4 separate regions of the Homo sapiens genome follow, and all the other regions are linked to region 1. The links are contacts of gene promoters, found by promoter capture Hi-C in human tissues and cell types (Jung and others, 2019). All regions are on one chromosome and are shown on one strand. Each heading gives the region's core, a stretch centred on a gene start or on the middle of the fragment in contact. The rest is flanking DNA. Distances are from core to core; before and after follow the strand shown. Region 1 holds the start of EZR (ezrin). Region 2 holds the start of TULP4 (TUB like protein 4). Region 3 has its middle 27 kb from the start of FNDC1. Region 4 overlaps LOC112267968.

The links. The method cuts DNA at HindIII sites, captures the fragments that hold promoters and counts their contacts. A contact is called where the count stands out against the background at its distance.
Region 2: the fragment with the promoter of TULP4 here is called in contact with the fragment with the promoter of EZR in region 1 in 1 of the 25 tissues and cell types used here (adrenal gland).
Region 3: a contact is called between a fragment that was not itself captured here and the fragment with the promoter of EZR in region 1, in 1 of the 25 tissues and cell types used here (hippocampus).
Region 4: a fragment that was not itself captured here is called in contact with the fragment with the promoter of EZR in region 1 in 1 of the 25 tissues and cell types used here (dorsolateral prefrontal cortex).

Annotation. Positions count from the first base shown.
Region 1 is chr6:158,817,116-158,821,070 of GRCh38, forward strand. EZR (ezrin) reads right to left here and starts at 2,253. Exons shown (of 14, transcript NM_001111077.2): 1 at 2,202-2,253; 2 at 967-1,051. The coding sequence starts at 978. It overlaps EZR-AS1 (EZR antisense RNA 1), which reads left to right and starts at 864. Exons shown (of 3, transcript NR_102425.1): 1 at 864-990; 2 at 3,357-3,478. RefSeq lists enhancers at 185-354, 837-886 and silencers at 1,097-1,296, 1,437-2,426, 2,487-2,536. The HindIII fragment of the contact is 16,325 bases long and covers 1-3,955 here.
Region 2 is chr6:158,310,759-158,314,713 of GRCh38, forward strand. TULP4 (TUB like protein 4) reads left to right here and starts at 1,707. Exons shown (of 14, transcript NM_020245.5): 1 at 1,707-3,510. The coding sequence starts at 3,259. RefSeq lists an enhancer at 3,331-3,410. The HindIII fragment of the contact is 2,154 bases long and covers 118-2,271 here.
Region 3 is chr6:159,140,521-159,144,475 of GRCh38, forward strand. No RefSeq gene overlaps it. Among named protein-coding and RNA genes, the nearest start is that of FNDC1, 27 kb to the right of the region's middle. The HindIII fragment of the contact is 6,118 bases long and covers 1-3,955 here.
Region 4 is chr6:159,075,752-159,079,706 of GRCh38, forward strand. The region is part of intron 3 of LOC112267968; the gene reads right to left. Among named protein-coding and RNA genes, the nearest start is that of TAGAP, 33 kb to the left of the region's middle. The HindIII fragment of the contact is 4,721 bases long and covers 1-3,955 here.

The sequences.
Region 1 (3,955 bases), core at 1,003-3,502:
ATTACAGAACCAACTTGTTTGAAAAACCAAAAAAAAATTCCAGATGTATCTGTAATCCCAATTTGTAATGAATCCTGATATTTTGTCCATTGTGATTCAAAACTCAAAAAATGTTAAACCTTCCCCCTAATGTCTAGTCACCAGTTCCCCAGTGTTAAAAGCAGGTAGAATACATACAACTTTCTAAGAAGCGTCAGTCCCAGAGAACCTGCCTTGTGCCTACAACCCCCAGGTCTCGCCAGCAATCTCAACACAATCAGATTCAAGGAGACAGAGGCGCAGGCACAGCCCTTTCATCAGCTGACCAGGAGTGCTCGGCCCGGCCTGCCAGGAACCTCTTATCAAACTCCACCGGCTGCCTGCATCTACAATTCAAGTCCATGGCTAACCTTCTGTTAGAGACAGAAATTCTGCTGCAGCCAGCAAGTTTGCTGGTGTACAGGGCACCGCTTCATGGGCCTAGTAGGAAGCGAAGCTGAAAGGCAACTTCCGAAAGCCAGTCTCCTCTCCCAAACGCCCTTTAATATCTCCCCAGTTGGATCTGGGGCGCCTGTGGTTTCGGACCCTTAGGAGCTCTGAGAACTGGTGTGTGTGGTCGGAAGCCATCTGAGTCTCCCTGTGATTTGGACTTTTTAAGAAACTTCTAAGTTGTATTACTATACCCTTTAAAAACAGACGGAAGCAGTGTAAAAAGGCCTCTAGTTTTTAGAAAAGACCGTAACTACTGGGGAGGGGGCTCACAAAGAAAAAGACTGCAGAGAAAAGCATCAAAATGGTGTTTTCCTAACGCTCCACAAAAGGGTCAACAAGTAACAAAGAGCGGCGAAAACCTCCTCCTATTCCTATCGTCTTCTGCGTGTGAGAAGAACCCTGTTCCCCAGGAACTGCCCCAACACCTCGAGCAGGTGCCTCCCCTCTCCAATGAAGCCTCTCCCGTCCGCCCGGCCCAGAAACTGGGCAACTTACTGGTTTCGGCATTTTCGGTTTCTGGTGAGTATCCTCGATCCCCGAAAACACGACTATCCAGCAGCAGCGAAGACGCTGTCCCAACCTGGAGTCAGAGCAGAACCCTTAGAGCGCCCGCCCGCCCTGCCTCGTCCTCCTGCCGCGCCCGACACTCGGCGCCCGCAGCGCGCTGCCGCTTAAGAACCGGCCAGCCCGGGCCCGGGTGAGTCAGCGCCCCGCCCAGCACTGCGGGCATGGGGAGGGGGCACGGGCGGGGCGGGGCCGGGCCGGGCCCCCGGCGAGGAGGCGCCCGAGAGCGGGGGCGCGCGCCCAAGGGGCAGCCGGCGGGCACTGGAGGTGCCCCCCAGTTGGGGGTGGGTCCGAGGAGAGGGGGTGCGCACCCAGGGGACCCCCAGCATGAAGGGGCTGGTGGGGGGCGCAGGCCCGGGAGAGAGAGGGCAGGGGGAACACTCAGTGGGGAGGATCGGGGGGAGGGGGCGCGGGCCCCGGGGAACACTCGGCCAGGAGGGTCAGGGGAGAGAGCGCCGGCCGGGCGGGGAGGGGTCTGGGGGACACTCGAGGTGCACCCAGCGGAGAGAGGCGGAGAAGAGGGGGCGCGGGCCCAGGGATACCCGGCGGGGAAAGGCCCGGGGAGAGGGAGCGCGCGCCTGGGAGAGAGAGGGCGAGGGGCAGGAGGAACACCTAGGAGGAAGGAGTCCCGGGACAGCCAGCGCGAGCCCGCGGGGCACCCGACAGGGAGGGGTCAGGGGAGAGGGGGCACAGGGCGGGCGGGGGGGCACTCGCTGGGGAGGGATCCGTGGAGAGGGGGCGCGGGCTCGGGGTCCGCCGAGGAACTTCCCGGGGCTGCCAGGAAGCCCGTGAGAAGCCGAGCACTCGGCAAGTTTCACTTTGTGTAGCAACCGTTGCCCCGCGGCTGCAGTCACAACCGTCAAGCCTTTGAGAAACTCTTTCAAAAACTGCAACCGCTCGGGAGCCGCCGAGGGACGGCGCCCAGGCACCCAGGCTCCGCGTTTCCTTCGGGAGAGACCTGAGGGGACCCGGCGCCGAGGGGAAGGTCGCGGGGCCGCGGGCCGGCTCAGCTCCACCTGCCCCGGGGGTGCCGGGCGAGAACCCCGCGCCGCGCCCCCTAGGCTGCCCGCCGCACCTGCCGCCGAACCCCGCCGCCCGCCCGGGCCCTCCACCAGGAACCCCCCGCCCAGAACCCCCGTCCCGACCCCGGCCGCCGCACGCCTCACCCGGCGCCTGCAGTGCTCCGTGTGCTCCCCGCCGCCCTTGCGTCCGCCGAGTGCGCTCGCTGCCCGCGCTCCCAAAAGCCCCGGCGGGGCGGGTCCCGGGACCACGCCCCTTCCCGCCCAGCTCCCGACCTGTGAGGTGCGCCCCCCGCAAGATGGCGGCAGCCGGGCCTCGGGCTGGGTGGGGGCGGAACTTGGCGGAAGTGCGCGCTACTCCCCTCGCAGATGCAAGTGGGGAGGCTGTTTGTCCCACAGCGGGCAGGGGGAAGTCAGGAAAACGTAAATAAATCTGGAGGGGCGGACGGCTTGGGGGAATCGCTGGACCGCTTGGGGCCGGGACCGGGGGCCAGTTCCGAGGCCTCGGCCCTGGGGCGGCTGCACCTGGCCCCGAGTCTCGGTGCACGTGGCCGGCCCAGCCGCCGCCTTTCCGAAGCTCTGGTTAAGTGGCACGTTTGTGGCCTCTTTTGACGTGACTGGCAAAAAGCTCCATGGGATTTCTCTGAAATTCTAGGAATTAAGTTTTTTTGTTTGTTTTTTTGCTAATGGTTCTCAACAAATTTTTAAGACACACAAAACACATACTTTGGGGGCCAGTAGAATTTGCTGCGGGAGAGCTCACTCTAGAAGGGGTTCTCAACGTCTGGCTTCCAGACGAGCAGCAACAGCATTCACTGGGAACTTGCATAAGTGGAAATTAGGTGTTGCTCAGCCTTAGGATTCAGAAACTCTAGGGCTGAGCCCAGCAATCAGTGTGTTACAAGCCCTTCGGGTGATTGTGATGTTGGCTAAAGGTTGAGACCAGAGCTTCTCCTGAATTCCTCTCCTGGGTTTACTCCTCCCTTTCTGCTTTTAGTTTTCTTGTTTGTAAAGCGGCATAATTATGGCACCTGTATCAGAGGGTTCTAATGAGGATAATGAGTTAGTACATGTACGATGCCTGGAACAGTACCTGACACTTAGTAAGCACTTAAATCTATCCTGGTAGAAAGAGAAACCAATGACTTTGGGCGAAGTTCCAAACTCTGTTTCCCAATTTGTTGAGTGAACATACTAGTAGCCCCACCTACATAGACTTGTAAGGATTAAATGAGATCGTGCATGTGGAATGCTTAACTCGTGCTAGCCTCATAGTAATTGATGCTTAACCTGTCTTCCTAGGGACACACTGCTGTTTGGGCAACCCTTTGTCAGGGCCTGTTATCTCCCACTTGCAGATCCAGGGCATTTCAGAGGTCAGAGAGAGGAGGGAGGCCTCTTCTGAGATTTTGACCTCTATTCAGGTAAGTGTATTCCCTCTGAAAGACTGAACTTTTCTTTCCCTTTTTTTTTTAGACGGAGTTTTGCTCTTCTTGCCCAGGCTGGAGTGCATTGGCGCAATCTCAGCTCATTGCAACCTCCATCTCCCAGGTTCAAGCAATTCTCCTGCCTCAGCCTCTTGAGTAGCTGGGATTACAGACACCCGCCACCAAGCCCAGCTAAATTTTTGTATTTTTAGTAGAGACGGGGTTTCACCATGTTGGCCAGGCTGGTTTTGAACTCCTGACCTCAGGTGATCTGCTCACCTCGGCCTCCCAAAGTGCTAGGATTACAGGCGTGAGCCATCACTCCTGGCCTGAATTTCTTTTTTATTAAAATGAAGTTATAGGCCGGGCGCTGTGGCTCATGCCTGTAATCCCAGCACTTTGGGAGGCCGAGGCAGGTGGAACACCTGAGGTCAGGAGTTCAAGACCAGCCTGACCAACATGGAGAAACCCCGT
Region 2 (3,955 bases), core at 457-2,956, 510 kb before region 1:
GTTCATTTTGCAACTTAAACTGTATAATACATGCTTTTTCCTGGGACTACCATGGTGCTTCAGTAGTCCACAGAAGTACTTTATGTGTACCTACTATTTTGGGACACAAGGGTATTAAAAACCATGTACTCAAGGGCTGATATTTAATAAAATTAATAATTTTTACTGCCGTATCAAAGATGTTCTTAAGTGAGGCTGGCTTTTTTTTTCTTTCTTTTTTTTAATCTATGACTACTGGTGCAGTTGGTACCTCTACCTTGATTAGTGTTAAAGAGCTTGCAGTTTGACCCACTGTTGATTTTGCACCATGGGTACAAATGTGAACACGGAAGAAGGCAAATTATGTCCTAGTATTATGATGAAAGTAGAGTCTTTTGCTGGGACTTGATGCTACAGGCCAGTAGTTCTCAAAGCCTGGTTCCCTGCCCAGCAGCATTAGCATCTCTTGGGAGCTTATTAGAAATGCGAACACCTGGGCCCTTCCCTTCCCTTTCAGTGTCCAGTTCCTGTGGGATGGGGCTGGGCCGCTTCAGCTGCCCCAGGAGACTGAGAGAGTCTGCTGAATTTGAGAAAGTCCACTCTGCTTTCTGGAAGGACTGGCGGGGCGGGAGGGCAGGGAGGATGAGTAAGTTAGGGACAGAGTGTTCTCGTGTTTGTAGAGGATGTGATGCAGCCTGGACTTCAGGCAGTAGGAAGAAGATGGAATGGATTTGCTAGAGACAGATTCTCTAGAACTTTATTGCTGGTAGACCACATAAAAGCTTAGAAAACAGCTGCGCTTTGCTCCGAGACCTGCCAGCCATCAGGGACGAATGAGTTTTAAAGGCCCTTACTGCTTTGTGTCTTGAGGGAATATCTTTTATTAATCGTGAAAAAATCAATCCAGATAACTTGCCTGAGTCATTTCAGTCTCCTTTTTGAGGATGCCTGCTTAAACAGCGACCATGGTCTCTGGAGGGGTAGAGTCTCACATTCGGAGTTCAGTCTCTTAGAAAGTACAGTTCAGTGTGGAAGAATGGCAGTTATGATTTCATTCAGATGTGCCCAGCTGCTGACAAATTGAATACAACGATCAGTGGCAGGCAGAACTCTCATTTGTTGTGTGTTGTCTTGAGTCTGGTGAGGTGTATCCTTTCACTATTGGATTTTACCATTCAGTGCAGTCAGTAGCTCCATTTGATGTAAGTGTAAAGATGGGTCTCTCATTTCAGTTTCAGCAATTATTCTTAAAACCTTTATTTTCCAGTGTTTTAAAGTTTTTAAATTTTATATCTTTTTTTTTTTTTAAACAGATTTGTAAGACTCCAGGGCCTCCCAGCCGTGAATAATCTGATGGTTCCTGAAATGACTGGGGAAGCAGACGCTTCGTATGGCAGTTGAAGAGTGTGTGTCTATGTGCATTTAAAACCTTCTTTCTGTACTTACACATTCACACGGGAAGACAGGCTCATTCTTGTGCACACTTGAGAGTTTTACAACTGATGAAAATTAATTTAAGAATCAGATGGAGCAACTTGACACCAGTGGGCTCAGGAGCCCGGGGAGAAAAATACATCACTAATGGCCAGTTTTCCATATGGTCTGCACGGGTAAAGAAAGTCTGCAAAAAGAAGAAAAAAAAATTTGCGCAGATTAAACCACAAAAATATTCTCCAGTTTAAAGAAGGAACTAAGTGAGAAGGTGACTGAGAAAGAAGTGTGATTTCAAACATTGCAGCGGCTCACACAGTGTTTGTTGCACTTTATTTTTCAGTGGGTTTGGTGATTTGGACGGATTAAAATTCTAGACTGAAAAGTAACTCCTACTGTGGTTATGGCTAGAGGAAAGCAAGTTCAAGTATGATGGGACAAGTTTGAATAATGAACTGATTCCTTTGCCTATCTTAATTAACTGTATTTGAGAAATTTTAATTTATTATTCCCCCCCTTTTTTCCTGCATCTATAGGATAATATTGTAAAATAGCAATTGAAACCAATAATTATTAAATAAATATCAAGGAAAATCCAAGCAAAGCTTTCTTTTTGTTGGACTAGTGGTGTGGTGTTTGGAGACAGTCTCTGAATGTGAACAGGAAAGCACCCATCAGCAAAACACTATCACTCTCTAGGGAGACAGCTGGGGGAATCTGACTCTGGCTTCTGCTTTTGTTTTAAGGGATTAACTTCCCTGTCAAGTCCAAGAAGACTTGCGTATGAGAAGATTACCTGATGGACTTAATTCTAAGATTAGCTTTTTTCATCAAGATGGAAAAAGATCTTTAGGAGCAGAAAAGGGGAGTGCTAACTGGGGGAGCGAGAAGGGAGACGAGCAAAAGAAACAAAATCTTGCCACGTGGCTCTGTTTTGTCAGCAAGAGGATTTAAGACTCACCCAGGGCAAACACTGGGACCACTGTAAGAGCGCTGGAACATTCTGCCTCTTGAGTGAAGGGGCCTTCTTTCTAGCCTCTATGGCACTGAGGGGTGCGCCGGCTGGTGGAGGAGCAGTCCGATGGAGCCCTGCGTTCCCCGGGGACACAGGGCCAAGCTTTGAGGTGGAAAGTTTCTGGTTCTGAAACAACAAGGAGAGAGTCTGTTTTTCTTCCTAAAATTTGGACTCTTGTCTGCACAAACTCTGGTCTGTTTTGCACGGTTTGTGTGCCTTTTTTTCCCTTTATGCAATCTTTTTCAGCTTTAGCAGCAGAAATTTGTCTAGTTCAGGAAACATGCTAGAGGGTGGCTTCAGAAGGAAGATGATCCTGTGTATTCTGTCTCTGCATCCGAACTTTTGAAGAGAAAAATTCGAGCTAGAGGGATTCTTAAAGCCTTAAGTTACTTGAAATCTATGTATTTGCAACCCTTTGTCTCTGGAATCATATTACACTAAACTGGAATCTCAGGCTGAATGAGAATAACCAAGTGGAGTAAAAAGAAGAAAACCGTTTCTTGATCACCACTTAATTAACGATGCTCTTTCTCCAAAGGATCAGCACGTTCTTCCTCTGAGAACTTGAAAATACAAATGGACCCCATGTTTTTTTAAGCATTACCTTTTCTTAGAAGACTGCCATCATCTTTTATAGAGGAATTTTTTCACTATGCATTCGGTGGATCTTTATAAAATACTGACCTTCTAATTAGATTCAGGTCAGTCTTAATTAAAGGGGGAAAAAAGCAACGCAAGCCAACCACAAAAACACATATACCAATGAAAGAAATTGGTTTAAATTTCACAGCATTAACATTACTTTTTAAGTAAAACAGTTCATTGAAGAAAGTATGTATGCAGCAGTGGAACATGGGCCTGTGCTTTGCAGCGATTCCAACATCCTGTGCCTGTCCTGGAAGGGGCGTGTCCCCAAGAGTGAGAAGGAGAAGCCTGTGTGCAGGAGACGCTACTATGAGGAAGGCTGGCTGGCCACGGGCAACGGGCGAGGAGTGGTTGGGGTGACTTTCACCTCTAGTCACTGTCGCAGGGACAGGAGTACTCCACAGAGGATAAATTTCAACCTCCGGGGCCACAATAGCGAGGTGAGCTGTGGTTTTGTTTCACTTTTTGGTCACTTCCAGTGGTGTTTTTGAGCCCCTTGTGGACTTGAAACTTCCTTCATTTCAGTTTCATAGACTTGCTGCCTAGTGAGACTTCCCATGCTGTGAGTTCTGTCTCTTATTCTCTGGCAGAAAAGATGCTAAGATGGACATAGTTCACAGTAGGCTGCGCCTCCCCAGGTGGGTCAGTTGTCCCTGGCACCCCTGCTGTCCTCTCCCTGCACTGTCTCTCTTAGAGGGTCCGGGCAGTGGGAAGACGCCCAGCAGTAGGGAGGCCAGGGCGCTTTCTAACCAGGGTGGGGGGTTAAATTAGATGATCCTAACCAACTTTTCGTGCTCCAAGTCTACATGGCAAAGAGTTACCCCCACCCCTGATGTCCCACTGACAGTGTGAAAAATGAAAGTGGTGCTGCCTTTACCTTGCACG
Region 3 (3,955 bases), core at 492-2,991, 320 kb after region 1:
ATCATATTTAGAATATTGTAAAAGAATTCCTGAATTTTTATGAGATCATTTTTTCTGAAAATAGATAACACATCTATATGAATATATATAAAATACATTGTGGGCCCTCAAATACCTGTAAAGTGAATTTCAGACAAAGCTAGTTTTCCATGGTGCATCCTGCCACGTGCCAACTGATGTTCGGTGTTATTGACAATCACTATCTGCATTGTGTGACATTCTTGTGGTCTGTCTATTTGATAAATTTTAAGCTTAAAGCCATTGTTCAAAAAGTCACACTATTGCTGACATTCAATGGTAAAGAATCTCAGTGAACCCAAGGAGTGCACATGCTTGTTTAAAGTTTTTTAAAAAGCACTTTCTTCTGTTCACTCTGTTGGCCCTGTGTACACAGCCACTAAGTCATTGGCACCCATTCCCTCCCACACCTGCCCTCAGAGCCCCTTGCATCCCCTGTGCAGTCAATTGGAGGGTGCTGGACTTCCTGGTCAATGCCCAGGCTCTTCTCAGTTTCCCTTGAGCCCCCTCATCAGTTTCTTGCACTCCCTTACCCTTTCTAAAGGACTTCCCTCGGGCTGGGGGAGCAGCAGGGAGCTCAGCTCTTTGGAGCCCAGCCCCTGCCTCCTGAGGGGCTACCCTGAGCTTTACACCATAGGGCTCCTCTGCAGGGTCAGCTGGAGATGCTCTCTGTGGGGCCTTCACTAGGCCTCCTCCTCCTTCCCATCCTGCCTTTGTCACTCCCTTCCTCATCTGCCCTGGGAGTGCTGGTGTCATAATCAATAAATCACCTACACACAGATTATATTAGTCCATCTCACGCTGCTATGAAGAACTGCCCAAGACTGGGTAATTTATGAAGGAAAGAGGTTTAATTGACTCACAGTTCTGCAGGGCTGGGGAGGCCTCAGGAAACTTACAACCATGGTGGAAGGGGAAGCAAACATGTCCTTCCTCACATGGTGGCAGGAAGGAGAAGTGCCGAACAAAAGGGGAAAAGTCCCTTATGAAACCGTCAGAGCTCGTGAGAACTTACGCACTATCACAAGAGCAGCAGCTTGGGGGTAACTGCCCCTGTGATTCAGTGATTCAGTGACCTCCCACTGCGTTCCTCCCATGACACATGGGGATTATAGGAACTACAATTCAAGGTGAGATTTGGGTAGGGACACAGCCAAACCATATCACAAATCGTTATCTTAGGGTCTACTTCCGGGAATTCTAACTTCAGATATGGGCCCTTTGTATGGTATGAACCCTAAGACATGTCTCAGTAGAGGTCGTCCACACAATATTATTAGCAACAGTGAGAGTGTCTGGGTGGGAACTCTGTTAGCAGCAAGGCCATGTAGGAACATAAGGCCCAGCTGAGGTCCTGGAGGGAATCCAACTCTTGCCCAAACCTGCAAAACATACAGATGACAAAGTTTAATAATGTGTGGGGCAGGAAATTAGTTGGGACCTATTAGCCCATGTGTCATCTTCAGGTCCTCCTTGCCACTTGACCTCTCCCATACAGCATTCAAGTAGCAGAATAGGGTGGAGACAGGCTGTGTGCTGGGTCCGGCCTCTCTGAACCTCTCTGAGCCAGGTACCCCATGGGCTGCTGGAGCTGCCAAAAGGTCCCTATGTCCTCACGTGTGGCACAGAAGTCATGAGGACAGCTGCTGCGTACAAAGGATGATGTAGTCAGGAACATGAGGGGCTTGAGTGGACAGAGGAAATGAGGGTCTGGCGGTACCTTCCCCAAAGCCTCTGCACCCTCTAGGTGTCCTAGAACTTAGACACAGCTCCAGGGAAAGGAGAGGCGAGACCTTGAGTTGAGTGAGATTCTTCTCCCTCATCCTGGTAGGATGGGGTATTAAAATAGAAATCCAGCTGAGGTACAGAAAATAAAGAAAGTTCTATTTCCTGCATCCATGCATTGGAGCACTGGGATCCATATGCACTATAAGTACAGGGGCACCTACCACATCCATGGTGCAGAATACAGCTGTACGGTATTTGACATATTAAACTTTTATGGGTTCAGGGAGTTTCTGCAATGCATGTGTATTCTTGTGTAAGGTCCCAAATATCTTAGACCTTCAGGAAAGTAAAGAAGTTGGTTAAACCAATACATAAAAAAACCCCATGCAAAAATCATGCTCTCACTTTATGCTTTGCTTTGACTTGCTTCACTTTTAAGCTTGCCCAGAGGCCAAGTAATCCCTGATTCAAGCCTGGTTAGAAGTAATCAGAAGAGTTTTGTTTAACAAAGCAAAGAGAAGTCAGCTCTTCAAAGCAAAACGTTCAAGGGATTTAATTTTTATGAACCAAATGTATCATATTTACTGAGTCCCTAATCTGGCCCAGACACTGAGGTTGGCGCCTTGGCCTCTGATAAAGATAAACAAGGGTAGGGGACCAGTTTGCCCTCTAGATCCTCTTTTTGTCTTTCCTCCACAGTAACTCTTGAAAGACGGGTGCATCAGACCATTGTTCCTTAAGGGACTGCTGTTTCTTTTCCTATTTATAACACGGGGAGGATGATATTTGCCTCAGTAATTTTGAAGGAAAGAGAAAATAAATGAATCATTTTAAAGACTTGGCTTACACAGAGCATGACCTTAGAAAGCCAATTCTTTTATGATTGATAATGTTGGCAATGATATTGGCAATGATAATGTTGACAAGCCCCTTGTATCAGTCCGGGTTCAGTCAGAGAAGCAGAACCACTGAGGGAAATAGACATATCTCTATCTATCAATTATCTATCTATCTATTGATCCATCGATCCATCCATCACTTATCTATTATCTATCTTCTATCTATCATCTAGCTATTGATATATATTCCACACATGAAAACACATACTCACAAACACACACACAAATATTAAGGGCTTTGTTATAGACACTTGACTCTACACAATTCTGGGAGCTGGTTGAGAGGTCCCTGCCTTAGGGCTGTTGCTTTCATGTCTGATGCTGAAGGTTGAAGAGTGCAGGGCAGGCAGAGAGGAAAGAAAGATGGATGTAAGTCTTGGAATCCAAGAACAAACTCAGAGCAGAGCAGGACACTGGAAGCTGTGTCCACTGTCATTGTTCTGACCTCAATGGCTTGGGTGTTCTGCAAAAGCTGGACCTTTGGTAGGAGCTAGGAGCTAGATACAAGCACATCTGGCCCAAGAATCAGAGAGGCTGGAGAGGAAATCCCAGGAAGGAGGCACAGCTGCAGGCCTGGTGGCCACCCCTTCATGCCAGTGAGGGAGCCAGCATTTAAGTGACAATGTGCAAGCCACACATGGCTGTTATTTCCTTTCTCCCTCCAAATCTTGCACAATGATCACTTTTGTGGCCACCCTAACTAGAAACTTCCAGCAAGGATGTAGTAGCTGTCCGTTCTCACACTGCTAATAAAGACATACCTGAGACTGGGTAATTTATAAAGAAAAGAGGCTTAATTGACTCATAGTTTTGCATGGCTGGGGAGGCCTCAGGAAACTTACAATCATGGTGAAGGGGAAGCAAACGCTTCCTTCTTCACGTGGCAGTAGGGGAGAGAAAGAGAGCCAAGTGAAGGGGGAAGCCCCTTATAAAACCATCAGAACTCATGAGAACTCACTATCATGAGAATAGTATGGGGGAAACTGCCCCCTTGATTCAATTATCTCCATCTGATCCCGCCCCTGACACATGGGGATTATTGTAATTCAGGATGAGATTTTGGGTGGGGACACAGCCAAACCATATCAAAAGGAATTTTGGGAAGTGTAGTTTATCCTAGTTGTGTTGACATATTACCAAATCGTCACACCCCTGAATAAACGGTTTTTTTTTTTTTTGCCCCAGGATACCTGTAGTTCTTGTAAATCACGTTTTAGGCCTTTCAAAATGTGCTTTCATTTTGTTTTAACAGCATGTCTATTGATGTATTTTGCTGTTGCAGAATATAACTAGTAATAACATTTCATACA
Region 4 (3,955 bases), core at 495-2,994, 260 kb after region 1:
GGGGCTGCTTGCATCCAAGTGCAATACTCTCTCTGCTCTGTTTGTGCCTAGCATAAGGCACATATCGCCTGCAATTCAAGCTTTAAGAGCCCGGGAATGTTTTACTACGTCTCTTCTCTCTTCAACAGAGCCTGTTCCATCAGCCGGGGTCCTGGGATGAAGGTAACGTGGAGCAGAGTTGCAGCTGATCCACGATGTGTTAGCGCAAGCAAGAAATAAACTTTTGTGATCCTAAGCCACGGGGGTTTTTAAGTTGTTTGTTAGAGCATGACCTATCCTATCCTGACTGCTGTACAAAATTAAGCAATTTCTGTTTGGCAGGATTTCCCAGACCCTCCGGAAGGCTGCTGTGCTGTGTCAATCTTTAAAATGGGAATGAGGTATATCATTTTTCCCAGTCTTAATGCCCAAGACTTTCTTAATGAAATCATCTACTGGGACTTGAACTGCTGTTCCAAAGAAGTTAATGGGATAAATGGCTACGTGTGTTCTGTGCATGAGTCATCTTCTTCCAATGAGATTGAAAGCCCCTCAGTGGAGTAGCATAGCATCCAACACAGAGTTCAATTCAACAAACTTGTTGATAAAAAAATCTCATCCTTTCCTGCCACCTCCATGCCCCACCCCATGCTGAAAGATTTATTTGTAATACCTGTTTCTTGCTTCGTGAACCAAGTTAAGCAGTCAGTGCATCCTGCTCATGTCATATGAGGCCCTGTCTCGCCCATGGAACTACCACTGACTTCTTTTTATTTACTTATTTTTGAGACAGAGTCTTGCTCTGTCACCCAGGCTGGAGGACAGTGGTGTGATCTTGGCTCACTGCAACCTCCACCTCCTGCGTTCAAGTGATCTTTCCACCTCAGCCTCCCGAGTAACTGGGACTACAGGTGTGCACCACCACACCTGGCTAATTTTTTTGTATTTTTAGTAGAGAGATGGTTTCACCATGTTGGCTAGCTGGTCTCGAATTCCCGACCTCAAGTGATCTGCCTACCTCGGCCTCCCAAAGTGTTGGGATTACAGGCGTGAGTCACCATGTCTGGCCACTACTACTGACTTCTACAAGTGCTCCCTTCTGGGGCAGCGCCTGGGAGGCAAAGAGCTGTGTGAGAAGCTTATTTCCAGAAGAGGTGATGAAGGTAAATCAATAAGATTCCGATGCTGTAAACTGGTCAAGTGTCACTCTGCAGCAGACATGCAGTATTAAAGGCTTTGCTAAAAAGAAACCTTTGCCACGTCTGCAGCTATTAGAAAACTTTTTGAATGTCTTCAAAGTAGGATCGCGACAATAGTTTCTTAAAAGGTGTGGTTGTTGGGGAGAAAAGAGAGGCTGCCATGAAGTCCTTTTCTTCTCAAAAGCAATTGCAGGAGAGATCCCTGTGTTCAGAAGAGAAGGGAAGGTGTGGATGGGAAACGCTTTGGTCTGCAGTTGATGTTAATCGAGGCTCTTCTGGAACCAGTCAGAAGCTGCCAGTGCCTGTGATTTCCCCAGCCCTCAGTGCTGCGAGCGAGGCGGCCCGTGAGTAATAGCAGCGCAGCCCACTCTGCAGTATGTGGGAGGACAATAAAGGTCAAACCACAGAGTGGGCTTCCAGCTGCCAGCACGGTGGCCTCTGTCCTTTCACTGCGAGGGGGCTTGGGAGGCTCGGGGAGGAAAGGGAAGGCTGGGTGTTAACGTGAGGTCCTGTCATGGTTTCCGTGGTAAACCATGGGTTTTCCAGGTCTTCAGATTCCAGGCCCACCGCCCTGTGGTTGCCATCTGCCAGCCCCTCTGGACCAGATCAAGTGAAGTCTCTCTCCCAGTACCCTTCTAGTGAGGAAGCAGACATCTGGCTCCTTATCATTGAAGAGAGAAAGCACTTATGAAATTGGATTTTGATTTGTGAGAGATTCAGGAACAACAGAATAATAAAACTAGAGATCAGTGGATCCAGGCGCTTTTTAAAAAAGTCGGCATTCTGGGGCACTTTCATTGTGCCTGGTACTGTGATAAAGATTTTTCAATAACTATTTTGTTTTGTTTTGTTTTTTGAGACGAGTTCTCACTCTGTCTCCCAGGCTGGAGTGCAGTAGTGCAATCATGGCTCACTGCAGCATCGAACTCCTGGGCTCAAGCAATCCTCCTGCCTCAGCCTCCTGAGTAGCTGGGACTAGAGGACTGAGCTACCAGGCCTCGCTATTTTTTTTTCTTTTGTAGATACAGGGTTTTGCTGTGTTGACCAGGCTGGTTTTAAACTCCTGGGCTCAAGCAATCCTCCTGCCTTGACCTCCCAAAGTGCTGGGATTACAGGTGTGAACCACCACACTCAGCCTAATAACTGTCTTTTCTAATCTCCCTGTCACCACTATGCTGTGGTACTATTACTATCCACATTTTACAGAGGACGAAACTGGCATCTAGAAGCTTAAGACCCCCATAGACAGCTGGGACCAAATTCAAGTTCAGCTAAATCACCAGCCTGCTCTCTATCATGCTGCTGCCCTGTATGGCCATTTTGGAAATTTCTGGCTAAAATAGCTACTGGATAGAAATGAACTACTACTATTGGTTCAGCATTTCTTCATTTATCCAGCGAACTTCTGTTGAGACCCTGCTGGTGAGGGCCCAAGGTGGATAAGGTTTGCCCCATCTGGAAGTCACCTGGGCTGGCTCAATTAGAGGGAGGCAATGCCAAAGGCAGTGGGAACCTTGAGGAAGGAACAACTCACTCTACCTGCGGCAGCTGGAGTGGACTTCCATGACATGGTGACATTGACGCTGAAGTGGGCTATCCCAAAGAGGAGAAAAAGGGGCAAGAGACTTGGAGAAGACTCAGCAAGGTGACCCAGGAATGGGAGGCGTGGGGAGTTTGGGAAACTCCAAGTATTTCCCTGCACAATGGGAGGAGAGGGAGGAAGTAGGAGAGAGTAAACCTTCTTAGTGCCACACTAGCTGGAGGGGCTTCATAAGAAGGCAGGTGATGTTACTGATGTTTTATTGAGATGATGTTTGCCATTGAGGATTGGAAGAGATGGGAGTGAGGTGAGGCGGGTGCTAGATGAGATCAGTCTTGAAGCCACTACTCCTCTGTGGTGGCATGAAGGATGAAATGGGCTGAGCAGGTAAGGAGACAGGTGCAATAGTCAGATGCGAGATGATGAGGGCCTGGGATGAGGCAGAGGGGATGGGTTAGAATGACATGGTCTTGGTCATTGAATGGATTTGGGCAAAGGAAGAAAAGGAGAACATTTTGGCTTCTGCCTCGCCCCATTGTCTCAATCTCATGCTAAAGGGGACTCTCTGTCTTGACTTAGTGGGTGCATACTTGAAAATGGAGTTTCAGGCTGGGCGTGGTGGCTCATGCCTGTAATTCCAGCACTTTGGGAGGCCAAGGCAGATGGCTTACTTGAGGTAAGGAGTTTGAGACCAGCCTGGCCAACATGGTGAAAACCTGTCTCTACTAAAAATACAAAAATTAGCTGGGTGTGGTGGTGGGTGCCTGTGCTCTCAGCTACTCAGGAGACTGAGGCAGGAGAATCGCTTGAACCTGGGAGGCAGAGGTTGTGGTGAGCCAAGGTTGCGCCACTGCACTTTAGCAAAAAAAAAAAAAAAAAAGGATTTCAGGGTGGCTATTACCTAAGTAAAGGTGGATGGGTTTTTAAGTTCCTCTGTTTCATTTGTTCACTTCTATTATTCATGTCTCTAGCATGAATCTGCAAGCAGAACCAGTCCCAGTGGAAACTGTGGTGGAGGAGGTTCGAAATGACAGGGGGTACATTATGTAAAGCTGCTGTCCTTTTTTTGTCTCCCGGCCGCTCCCAGCCTTGCACTGGGTCTCTCCCTGGTTACAGAGTACAGCATTCCAGAGAAGAACAGTTTGGCAGAAAATAAAAACATTTGGCATATAGTAAAAATAAACAGAGATCTGCAATGAGGAAATCTTAACCCTGAACAATTCATGGAGAAAATATC